2 separate regions of the Homo sapiens genome follow, and region 2 is linked to region 1. Evidence: promoter capture Hi-C in 16 types of primary human blood cells and fetal thymus (Javierre and others, 2016). All regions are on one chromosome and are shown on one strand. Each heading gives the region's core, a stretch centred on a gene start or on the middle of the fragment in contact. The rest is flanking DNA. Distances are from core to core; before and after follow the strand shown.

Evidence for each region. The method cuts DNA at HindIII sites, captures the fragments that hold promoters and counts their contacts. A CHiCAGO score of 5 or more calls a contact.
Region 2: a fragment that was not itself captured here is called in contact with the fragment with the promoter of DHCR7 in region 1 in 1 of 17 cell types (naive CD4 T cells); the score reaches 5.1 in naive CD4 T cells.

The regions. Positions count from the first base shown.
Region 1 is chr11:71,446,300-71,451,537 of GRCh38, forward strand. It overlaps DHCR7 (7-dehydrocholesterol reductase), which reads right to left and starts at 2,094. Exons shown (of 9, transcript NM_001360.3): 1 at 1,991-2,094; 2 at 1,311-1,435. DHCR7-DT (DHCR7 divergent transcript) reads left to right here and starts at 2,229. Exons shown (of 2, transcript NR_186309.1): 1 at 2,229-2,586. RefSeq lists a silencer at 1,761-2,400 and an enhancer at 2,126-2,627. The HindIII fragment of the contact is 9,377 bases long and covers 721-5,238 here.
Region 2 is chr11:76,443,820-76,448,619 of GRCh38, forward strand. EMSY (EMSY transcriptional repressor, BRCA2 interacting) reads left to right here and starts at 1,199. Exons shown (of 22, transcript NM_001300942.2): 1 at 1,199-1,309; 2 at 3,081-3,189. The coding sequence starts at 3,120. EMSY-DT (EMSY divergent transcript) reads right to left here and starts at 861. Exons shown (of 2, transcript NR_186348.1): 1 at 459-861. RefSeq lists enhancers at 204-839, 840-1,476, 1,177-1,406, 1,607-1,656, 1,906-2,200 and 1 more. The HindIII fragment of the contact is 738 bases long and covers 2,813-3,550 here.

The sequences.
Region 1 (5,238 bases), core at 844-3,343:
CCAGGAAAAATAAAAAGTCATATAAGGAAGGAAAAAAAGAAACCAAGCCATTATTATAGGACCTTACTTGGCTCAACAGTGAATAATGGTAATTTTGTCATAACAATGTATACTCTGACTATTTATTGACTATTGTATGCACAGAAGGGAATTTGCAAAGTTAGGGGTACTAAAAGGAAATTACTTAGAAACAAGTAGGTACAAACAACAACACAAAAGTAGCTGAAAGAATGAAAAGTGTTTGCTGCTGGCAAGCAAGACTGTCGGATGTGGGATGTGGTAGAGAGTATTTCTTCTGAAGCCTTTTAACACTGATTTTTAAAAAAATGTGTGCATGAATTACTTTAATAAAAATTCACACACATTTAAAAAATTTCAACGATGAAAGACATTTTCCTTATGCAGTGTGAGAACTTCAGTACCCGCACTTCATTCAATTTACACAAGTTAGTTTATGCAGTTCCTATGATGCACAAAACAAGACGAAGAGTTCTTGATAGGAAGAGACCGTGTCTCTCTCCGGCCCCAAATACTGAATACAGAGCCTGGCGAGTGCCAGTCACTCTCCTTATATCTGTAAAATCAAAGTGGATGAAAGAAAACTACTTCTGAGAAAAGCTGACACGCTAGTGAGTCTGATCTCAAGATCACAGCCACCTGGACAAGCTGGCTTGCTTTAGACAGTTCCTCTCCCCCAGGCTCTCATCAAGGTAAGATACAAGCTTAGTTTCTTCCCAGCCAAAACTTACCAGCTCAGTGCCCCCACTCCCTCCGATCCCTAGTTCCCACACTGACTGGTGTTAATCCAGACCACCCACATGCACACTTGCCTTACAGGAAGGCTAAGTAGAATGGGGTGGCATTCGTCTTGCCCCAAGCCATGGATAAGCTACAAGGGGACAATGCCTGGTACCAACATTATCAATTATGTAAAACACTGGGAAATTGCAAAAGGGTCAGGGGATGTGTAACCTCAGAACTAAAGTGTGAAAAAGCCACTGGGAGAATGTTGTCAAAAGGGATTAAAACAAGACCAAAGAAGTACTTTTAGCTTATTACAGAGTTCATTCACCCAGGAGTCAGCTCTTTAGCCACAAGCATTGAGTTGTGCAATAAACATCTAAGTAACATCCTTCCCAATAGACGGCTGGGAACAGACAAAGGGGAGGTGCCCTGGTATGTTGTATTTTACTCATAAGAGGCACAGACAGTCGTTGGCACTCGAGAGCTGGTGGACCAGTCTGTCTGTACTTTCAACGCTGTGAAGCCATAGCCTGCGCCCACGATCCAGGGCACTGAGATACACTTACCTCCAGCCTCTTGCCAAATAGTTTCACAGCAGAAGGGAACTTTTCCTTCTTGAACCGGCCCCTTAAAAGTTTCTAGACACCTGTGCTCCAAATGCCTGCTTGATCCTTCTCAACCGGCTAAAGTCCTGCAAGGAACACAAAAATGAATAAGACCGCAGGCAGCTGACATTTCAGGAGAGGGCAGAAGCTCAAGGCCCACAGTAGGAGTCAAGCAAGAGGCAGAAGGTCCAGTGCTCAGGGCTTCAACAGCCGCATGTCAGGGAGGACGGCGGACAAGCCAGTCCCATCGCAAAGCTGCTGTGCCTGGCTCAGCACTGACAAAGAGGGAGGCGAACAACAGGTGGGGCAGGAGAAAGAGCCGCCGCGGAGCGCGGCATGGGGCCAGGAGCCGACCCCGGAGCCAGGCAGCCTTCGCCCGGGGAAGCTCCAGACAGCGCGGGGACAGAGCATCCCTCAGACGCCGGCTCGTGGGGGAGGGGGACTATCCACGCCTCCGCCCCGCCTCCCCGGAGCCCCAGCGGCCCCTCGCCTGTGAGCTGGACCCTCTCCCCACCTGCGCGCACGCCCCCTACCCCTGACCCCACCCTCGCCCTGTGAGTGGGCACCTGCTCACCTGGGCAAGCGCCCCCCACTGCGCACACCTTCCCCTGGCCTCACCTGCGCACACCTTGGCCACTCACCTGCGCACACCTCGGCCCCTCACCTGCGCCCACCTTCCCCTGGCCTCGCTTGCGCGCGCTGCTCCACGCCGCCTACCCTCTAGCCAGGGGTCGGAGTCACCCGCAGGGCAGGGGCGCCCGCCCCCGGATGATGTCAGCGATTGCCTGCCAATCGGAGGCGGACCCTGCACGCCCGGCGGCTCCGCGCCCCGTGATTGGTCGAGGAGCCTGAGCTGACTCCGGGCCCACCGCGCCCGCCATTCGGCAGCGGCCGGACTCGAGATTGACGGCCCAGGCCCCGCCCTGCCGCCCCACCGGCCCGCCCGGGCCCTAGTGGGTGGGCGCAGCCTCTGGCGCTTCTTCGGGATCCCAGCTGACCAGCTGGGGGTGGGGCGTGGCGGAGTGGCCACGTGGGCCGCGCGGAGAACGCGCCAGGCTCATCACCTGGATCATCGTGCCTCAGTTTCCCCCTCGGCAAATGGGGCTTCAGCGGCTCGCGACGCACATTGATGGAGCGTATGTCCAGGCGCCGGTGCACCGCAAGGAGCAAAACAGACACAGTTCTTGGTCCTAGGGCTCACGTCCCGGGGCGAAGAGGATCCTCCATAAACGATCAGGTAAACACATGGGTGTCAGGGAAGGCTCGCCGCTGGGAGACCGCCAAAGTGACCCGAGATGGAGTCTGGGTGGCCTGCTTATTAGGGGGGCACACCTGTGCGAGGACGGGAGGGGAGGGAGCAGCAGGACTGGGCAAAGGGAGAAGCTGAGCCACAGTGCGAGCCGGACGCACGGGCCACGTTGCGAGGGCATGACCTGGGGCGAGGCAGCCCTGGAGGAGGGGGCAGCTGAAGGTGTCTGCTGACCCCACACCCAACAGCTCGGGTAACAGGCCTTACTGTCAGAGCGATCTGGTTGCCACGTCTCTGTGGCCCTCAGAGAGACATCATGTTTTCTTTTTTCCCTGCACCTTTTTGTTTTGAAAAATGTTCAGCATACAAACAAGTTGAACGTAAAGTGAGCACGCAGATTCCTAGGTTCAGCAGGGGTGAGCAGCTGGCCACGTTTCATTTCTCTCCCTCTGTGTTTATATATGTGTATTTTTCTTTTTTCCTCCCCACTCAGCCCCCACCATTAGCTGCAGATACCGTGATACCCCCCTCCCAAATACTTCGGTATCCAACTCCTTAAGAACAAGAACCTCCTATATTACCAAAATACAATGACCACATCAGTTCAATGCTGTTATCTATTTTCCATCTCCAGTTTCCCGCGGTTGTCCCAATAATGCCCTTTACAGCCCTTTTGTTATTGTTGTTTTGTTTTGCTTTGTTAAGACGGGGGTCTCTGTCACACAGGCTGGAGTGTAGTGGCACGATCACAGCTCACTGCAGCCTTGAACTGCTGGGCTCAAGCGATTCTCTTCCCTCACCCTCCTGAGTAGCTGGGACTACAAGAGCACACCACCACACGCTATTTTTTTTTTGGTAGAGATGGGTGGGGGGGGGGGTCTCACTATGTTCCCCAAGCTGGTCTCGAACTCCTGGGCTCAAGCGATCCACCCACTGTGGCCTCCTACAGTGCTGGGACTACAGGTGTGAAGCTCTGCCCTACAGCCCTTTTTTAAACCCCAGGATCTAATCAGGGAGCCACACTGTGCATTCAGGCTATGCACTTTTTTTGGCAGGATAATATACTACATAGAGCATGTTTTATCTTGTTAGAAGGCTGTCAACCTGAAATAACCAAACAGGTCAGAATTTAGCTTAAAGAGAGTTTATTTAAGTGTATAAAGTTTGAGGACAGGCTGCCTGGGAAGCACAGATTTTAAAGAATGGAAATCAGTATTTTGAACTGTAGATGTTTGGGATCATTTATGTAGACAAATTTTAGGGAAGTTTAACAGAATTTTAACATCTTTTTATGCATAAAGTTATAATCTGACCAGCTGAGGTGGTCTTTTTTAGGTGGAAGGTATATTTAACATTTTACACTGAAGATGTAGGAGTCTGGTCTAAGTACGGGATAATAAGAGACAATCTATAATAAAGATCAGTAATTAAAAGGGGAGCAGGCCTGGTCTGTGGTCTCTCCTAGTCATTTATAAAACATGAATGATAAAGAAAAACAGCCTATAATCTAAAAGACAAAATTACAAACATGCTATGTGACCCAGTTTCTAGGACTTAACTTCCCTCTTGACATAATAAATTTATTTATTTTTATTTATTTATTTAAAGACAGGATCTTGCTCTGTTGCCCAAGTTGACCTAATAAATTTCAAGAGTCCTAAAATTTTCTTTTTTAAGACAACATATCACTGTGCTCCATGATTGATAGTGGGGCTCCGTGGTTTCTGCCAGAAGTCTCCATTTTTCCTTTTGTTATTAATGAGTAATTGGTGCAGTGATACTTTGAGACTGTAAATATGCTGTTCCCAAATGACCTTTCACCCAGTGAACTAGCATTTAATGAGGAATCTTGCCTGAATCCCTTATTTCTTGGGACAAAGTGTTAATTTTCTAATTTTATCATTCCCTCAACATTTATTAATAAATTATTTATTAGCAAGCATTCTTCTGTAGGGATTTCCTCTTTGATTTATTTTTTATCAGTATGCCCTAATGGATTTAGCTGACCGAGTTATGATCCTTACTGTATTGTCCTGTATTTAGCTAACGGGAGCCCCTTCAAATTGGCTTCTTTTTTCATATGACATGTATCTACCATCCTTTGAGTACTTACTTATTTTCTGGGACAACCAGATGTTCAAGGATCCTCCCCTTCTCTGCCCAGGCCTGGCATCAGCCATTGTTGGCAGGAGATAATTTGAGCAGATCGTGTGGATTTCAGAAGCATGAAAACTACTGTGAGGATTAAATAAGTTAGCATGTATAACATTCTGGTGCTTTTGTGGAGTTTCCAAATTGTCATGAACAAGCACTACTTTATAGACAGGAAAAAAAGTGATTCAAAATGTGAAAACGGGTATATGTACATAAGGTAAAAATAAAATCCTAAGCCCCCCATTGACCAAAGGGACCTTCTCCTGACCAAGGGGACACCAGAAAAACCTCAACACTGAATTCCCAGACATGATGGGATGGGAGGTCAGATGCGCCTGGTAATAGCCCCCTGTTTCAGAGTTTGGACACCACAACTGGCCGGCATTCATGTTAAAACAGAGATCGTAAGACTGACAGAACGGACTCTGTGGCAATAAGATACCAAATTATAAACAGGACCCAAAGCCATGCTAGGCGAGGGTAAGT
Region 2 (4,800 bases), core at 1,932-4,431, 5.0 Mb after region 1:
TATTTTTAGCTAATGGGCAAATAGTAGTAGGAAACTTAAATGCTGTTATTTACCTTCTCTTCCTAACCTACAGTTCCACTCAAGAACATGAAGAGTCTCATACGTTTGTATAGTGGTTCACAACTTACAACGTTTACGTGGTGCATCACAAGATCCCTATAGGGTAGTATTAACCCAATTTTTCAAGAAGGAAACTATGTCTGGAAATTGTAGAATGCACATTAAAAACTCTTTCTGACGAGCGTTTCTACCGGATCCGATGTTACCCAAAGTACAAAATTTAAAGAGGGAAGTCAATCACAAGATTTCATTGAATCTTCAGTATCAGGCAACTGGCTTCTATTTTATGGCCGCAAATAACTATATATTGGGCCCCTTTTCTCACCTGTAAAATAGGAACGAAAAGACCTTCTCCACAAATAAGATGAAATAAGAACAAAGGCTGAGGGTGAACCTACCACGTCGTAGGGCCTCAAATAAATTCCTTCTCCTTCTTGCCCTTGACAGAGATAGCACGAGATATCACTACCATTCCCACTTCACACGTGGAGGAAATCCAACGCGAGAACGCTCGGATTTCCCCTTCTTTACTTGCAACAACTCCGTAACCCGCAAATCGGCTACGGACAACTGCGATGTCCACTATGTTAGTTCTCGTAGCGTGGATTCTCTCTCCTCAAGATGCCATCTGGGGGGCTAGAGGCCACTAATAATTGCCCTCACGATCGAAGAAACTCGATCCTAATCCTCGACGGCACTTCAGGAACAAAGCTGCTCTCCCATCGTCCCTAACCTCACTACCGTAAAGGTCGCAGCAGAGCCCCTGCTCCAACCGCTAGCGCCATCTTGGCCGCTACGTGTGACGCCACACGTAGCAGAGAGCGCAGCCGATTGGCTGGGAGACGGCAGCCCAGGAGAGGCGCGCGAAGCCAGAGACAGGAGGGTATGCAGGAGAAACCAAGGGAACTACAATCCCGGCCTTCCTTGCGCGTACGACAGCAAACCTGGAGCGAAAGAGGTTGGAGTTTGGATTCGGACCACAACTCCCAGCACCCTCCGCGATGTCTGTCCTTTTCTTTCATAACGCGGAGGAAAAGAAGGACAAGATGAATGGAGGCCTTTTGGTGTTTGTTCTCCGAAAGGCGGGAAAAGCGAACTACACCTCCCGACTGGCCGCGCGCGGCTGCGCCTGCGCCCTGTTACCTGTCGCCATCTTGCCCCTTCAGAGGCACCGCAAACAAACCCAATTCCTGGTGTCCCCTAGTCTTGGCGGAGGAGCCTTTTAGATGAGCCCCGAAAGGCCGGGCAGGTGGGTGACTCTCAGGCAGGGTCCTGGGAAGAGCTGGCAGGCCAGCCAGGCTAGAGGAGCGCCGGGCCAAGCATTCGGAGCCCGGCTTGGGGCTCCCAGCCCCATCCTCCGTTGTTTCCTAACGGGATCGTGGGGCTCCCCGGGGTGGACTCAGGGGGACTCTGGCTGGCCTGGTGCTGGGACTCTGGGGGTTTAGCTCTGGGAGACTCCCGGTGAGTCCAGGTCGTCTGGCTGGGTATCCGCTGGCTTACTCTCTCTCGGTTGTCCTCTCCGCTGGGGAGGGAGTGAGGCGCGGGTGCCGGCCGGGACCCCTGACAACAGCTACTGGCCCAGAGGGGCTTGGGTCGTGGACTTGACATTGGGACCGGCGCCGAGAGGTCCGGGTGAGGAGCCTGGGCTGGCTGCTCTTGTTGTGGTGCTGCTAGGGAGTGCGTGTTTGGAGAGGGGGCGGGGCGGGCTTGTCTCCTTGACACTTGAGTGGGGAAGGATCCTACAAGATCCTGGTTCCCCGAGCGGGCTCCGGAAACTACTGCCCGGGTTTCCGATGCGTTGCGGCCCCGCTCTGGGGTCCCCTGGCTAGGACGCGCCGGGATGCCGTGACGTGGTGCTCGGTTCGAGCAGTCGCCGGCCGCCTCCAAGATCCTGTCGGGAGGCGGGGACTGGCTTGTGGAGGGAGAGGATTCCTTTGGCTCTGCCCCTTCTTCCTCCTCCCCACCCCTTTTCTTTATGTCATACTGCCGGCTGGGGCGCGCAGTCCAGTTCTTCTTGCCTTGGGTTTGTTCTGAGCTGAGAGGACTATGGGAAGTAGGGGGAGGGGGGCTCACCTCGGGACACAGAGTTGGAGTTAGCAGCCCCAGCGCCTGGAACGGGATATAGCAGTTATTTCGGTTCGGTGTCTGACTTCTAGGCTAGACAGTGAGCTCGTTCATTCATTCATTCATCCATTCGTTTTGCTCAGTCGCGTCAACCATTCACTTACCCATTTAACAAATACTTAGAGCGGCTCTACTCTGTGCTAAGCAGGTATTGCGCGTGCCCCCAGAGCCGTGTCTTTTTGTCTTTTACACTAGGAAATTCCCAGTTCTAAGTAAGTTCCTGGCAGCTCAACTGTTGGTAAATGGCTGTTTAATAACTACAGGATCAAAATTCATATTCCATTAAGACTTGAGAGAGTATATATATATGTGTGTGTGTGTATATATATATGTATATATATATGTGTATATATATATATGTATGTATCGTTCCAATTTTAGTATATGTGTTGCTGAAGCGAGCACGAGGAGTTATTTATTAAGTTTCTTTAACTTGCTAGGAGCTTTACAAATTTTATCTCATGTAATTCATAAATGAGGAAGCTGACAGGAGTCAACTTGCCCCAGGTTGGTAGTACCACCTGTTTATTAAATGAAATGCCAGCCACTATGAAAGAACTTTATATATAGTGTTCTTTAATACGCGTAACAAACTGGGTGGTATTACCTCTGTTTTATAGATGTGTAAAGCTTAGGCTTAACCAGTAAGTTGAAAAGTTGGGACTAGAAACCTAGAGGTGTCTGGCTCTAAAGCCTGTGTTCTTTCCACTGTGATAGTTCAAATGACTTAATTCTTGATTTCTCAAAAGTTGGAAAGTGTGGTGGTGAGAAAGGATTGTAAAATAGTAATATCTTTTTGGTTTACTTCTTAGCCTGTGACTGGATCTCCAGGTGAGTGGCCCCTTGAATGTACTTTGGTACTTTGGTAATTTGACTTTTTTTTTTTGTTCTGGTAGGGAGGACAAGCTCTTTGGGGCTACCAAACAGAAGCAGCAATGCCTGTTGTGTGGCCAACCCTTCTGGATCTCAGCAGGGATGAATGCAAAAGAATTCTTCGAAAATTGGGTATGACGTTCATTGTTTGTTTTTTACCTCTCTCTGATACCTTTTTTCCCTTTCTGCCTAGGTCATAGCTGTTTGCATGGATGTCATATCTCACGCTACATCAGAAATTCTTTGGAGATACAGTTCCCATCTTACTCATTGTTGTTTCCCTCAGTGCCTAACATAGTGCTTTGTAAATAGTAGGTGTGTGAATTGTAATAATACTAGTAGCTAAGATTTATTGAGGGCTACTTGGCTATTCTGAGTCTTTTTTATACAACATCTAATTTAAATATTTTAAGAATTAGCTTTGTCCTTTGAAAGCCTAAAAGGTAGGTGTTTTTTGTTTGTTTGTTTTGTCTCGTCTCCATTTTACAGATGAAGCTTAGAAGCCAAGGTAATGGTGATAGACATGGAGTCAGTATTTGAACCAGGGAGTATGCTTTCAGTCTCACTTTAACATACTCTTAACCTTCATGATTGTATGTGTCAATTACATACTATTTCTGAATTCTAAGTTGATGTAAGCCATGCTCACTTTTTCAAATTATATTTTACTATCAATAATAAAACACATTTTATGCTTGTAATTTATTATTTAGTGTTTCTTTTCCCTTACAGCAGCCTTTCTCAACCAGCATTGAGGGAAAGAATTAAACCCTAATGCTAAGGTATCCATTGTATGTAAAGAACTAACTTCGCCCTGTGCATCTAGAGTGCTATTAGTTATTACTTTCCTTGGGAAAATTGAGAAAAAGAGTTATTACTCAAATCATTTTGTGTTCTGTAGTTCAAATGAGGATCTTTGGTTGAGAAATGCTGCCTTAGACTATGAGGACCTTGTCTTATTTACCACTGTAGTCTCTGGCTAGCACAATAAATGAAATAATTGAAAAAAATAATTTGAAAAAGAAGATTAAATGTTTTGGCAGTGGATATGCATTATTTAGATATCTGTGATTTTAAAGGAAAAGTATAGGTCTTGAATTTAGACAGACCTGGGGTCTTGGTATTATTACAAATGACCCATGTGACCAAGGACAAGTTATTTATTCTTCCTAAATTTGTTGATAGTTTTGTTAAAACAAAAAAAAAGAGGATAACACTCTCTGCCTCATTAGTTTGTTACGTGTGTTAACAGTATACATAAAGGGCCCGTCATAGTAAATCTTTGTTGGGAATTTTTCTTTGTAAATCAGATAGAATCATAGCTGCTCTGGCCCTGCCTGTCCTTTTTATTCCACCCAAGGCCACTATGAGGATTTCAAATCACTTTTTAGCAGCATCTTTTAAAGCAAGTCTAAGAGAGTTGTTTTTGGAGAGGGTGTGGGGGATGTCAATCTTTTTTTTTTTTAACCAAACTTTTAGTCCTAATCTGAAGATAGTTTTCTACACTTGCATACAATTAATATAACTTGTTAGTTGCCGATTATAAAGTTGGACTCATATTTATTTGATAGCTGAAATTGCAGAACATATCACAAAGACAGTAGATTGAATTGGGGTTTCTGGGCTTGGGGGCCTTTGAATTGAGAGATTATGTTTAAATATAAAAATGGTAACCTTTAAGTCTAAATTTATTCCTAATTTAATCAGAGCTGTGTGGGTAATGTTGCTGCAGAGTGCTTCTAT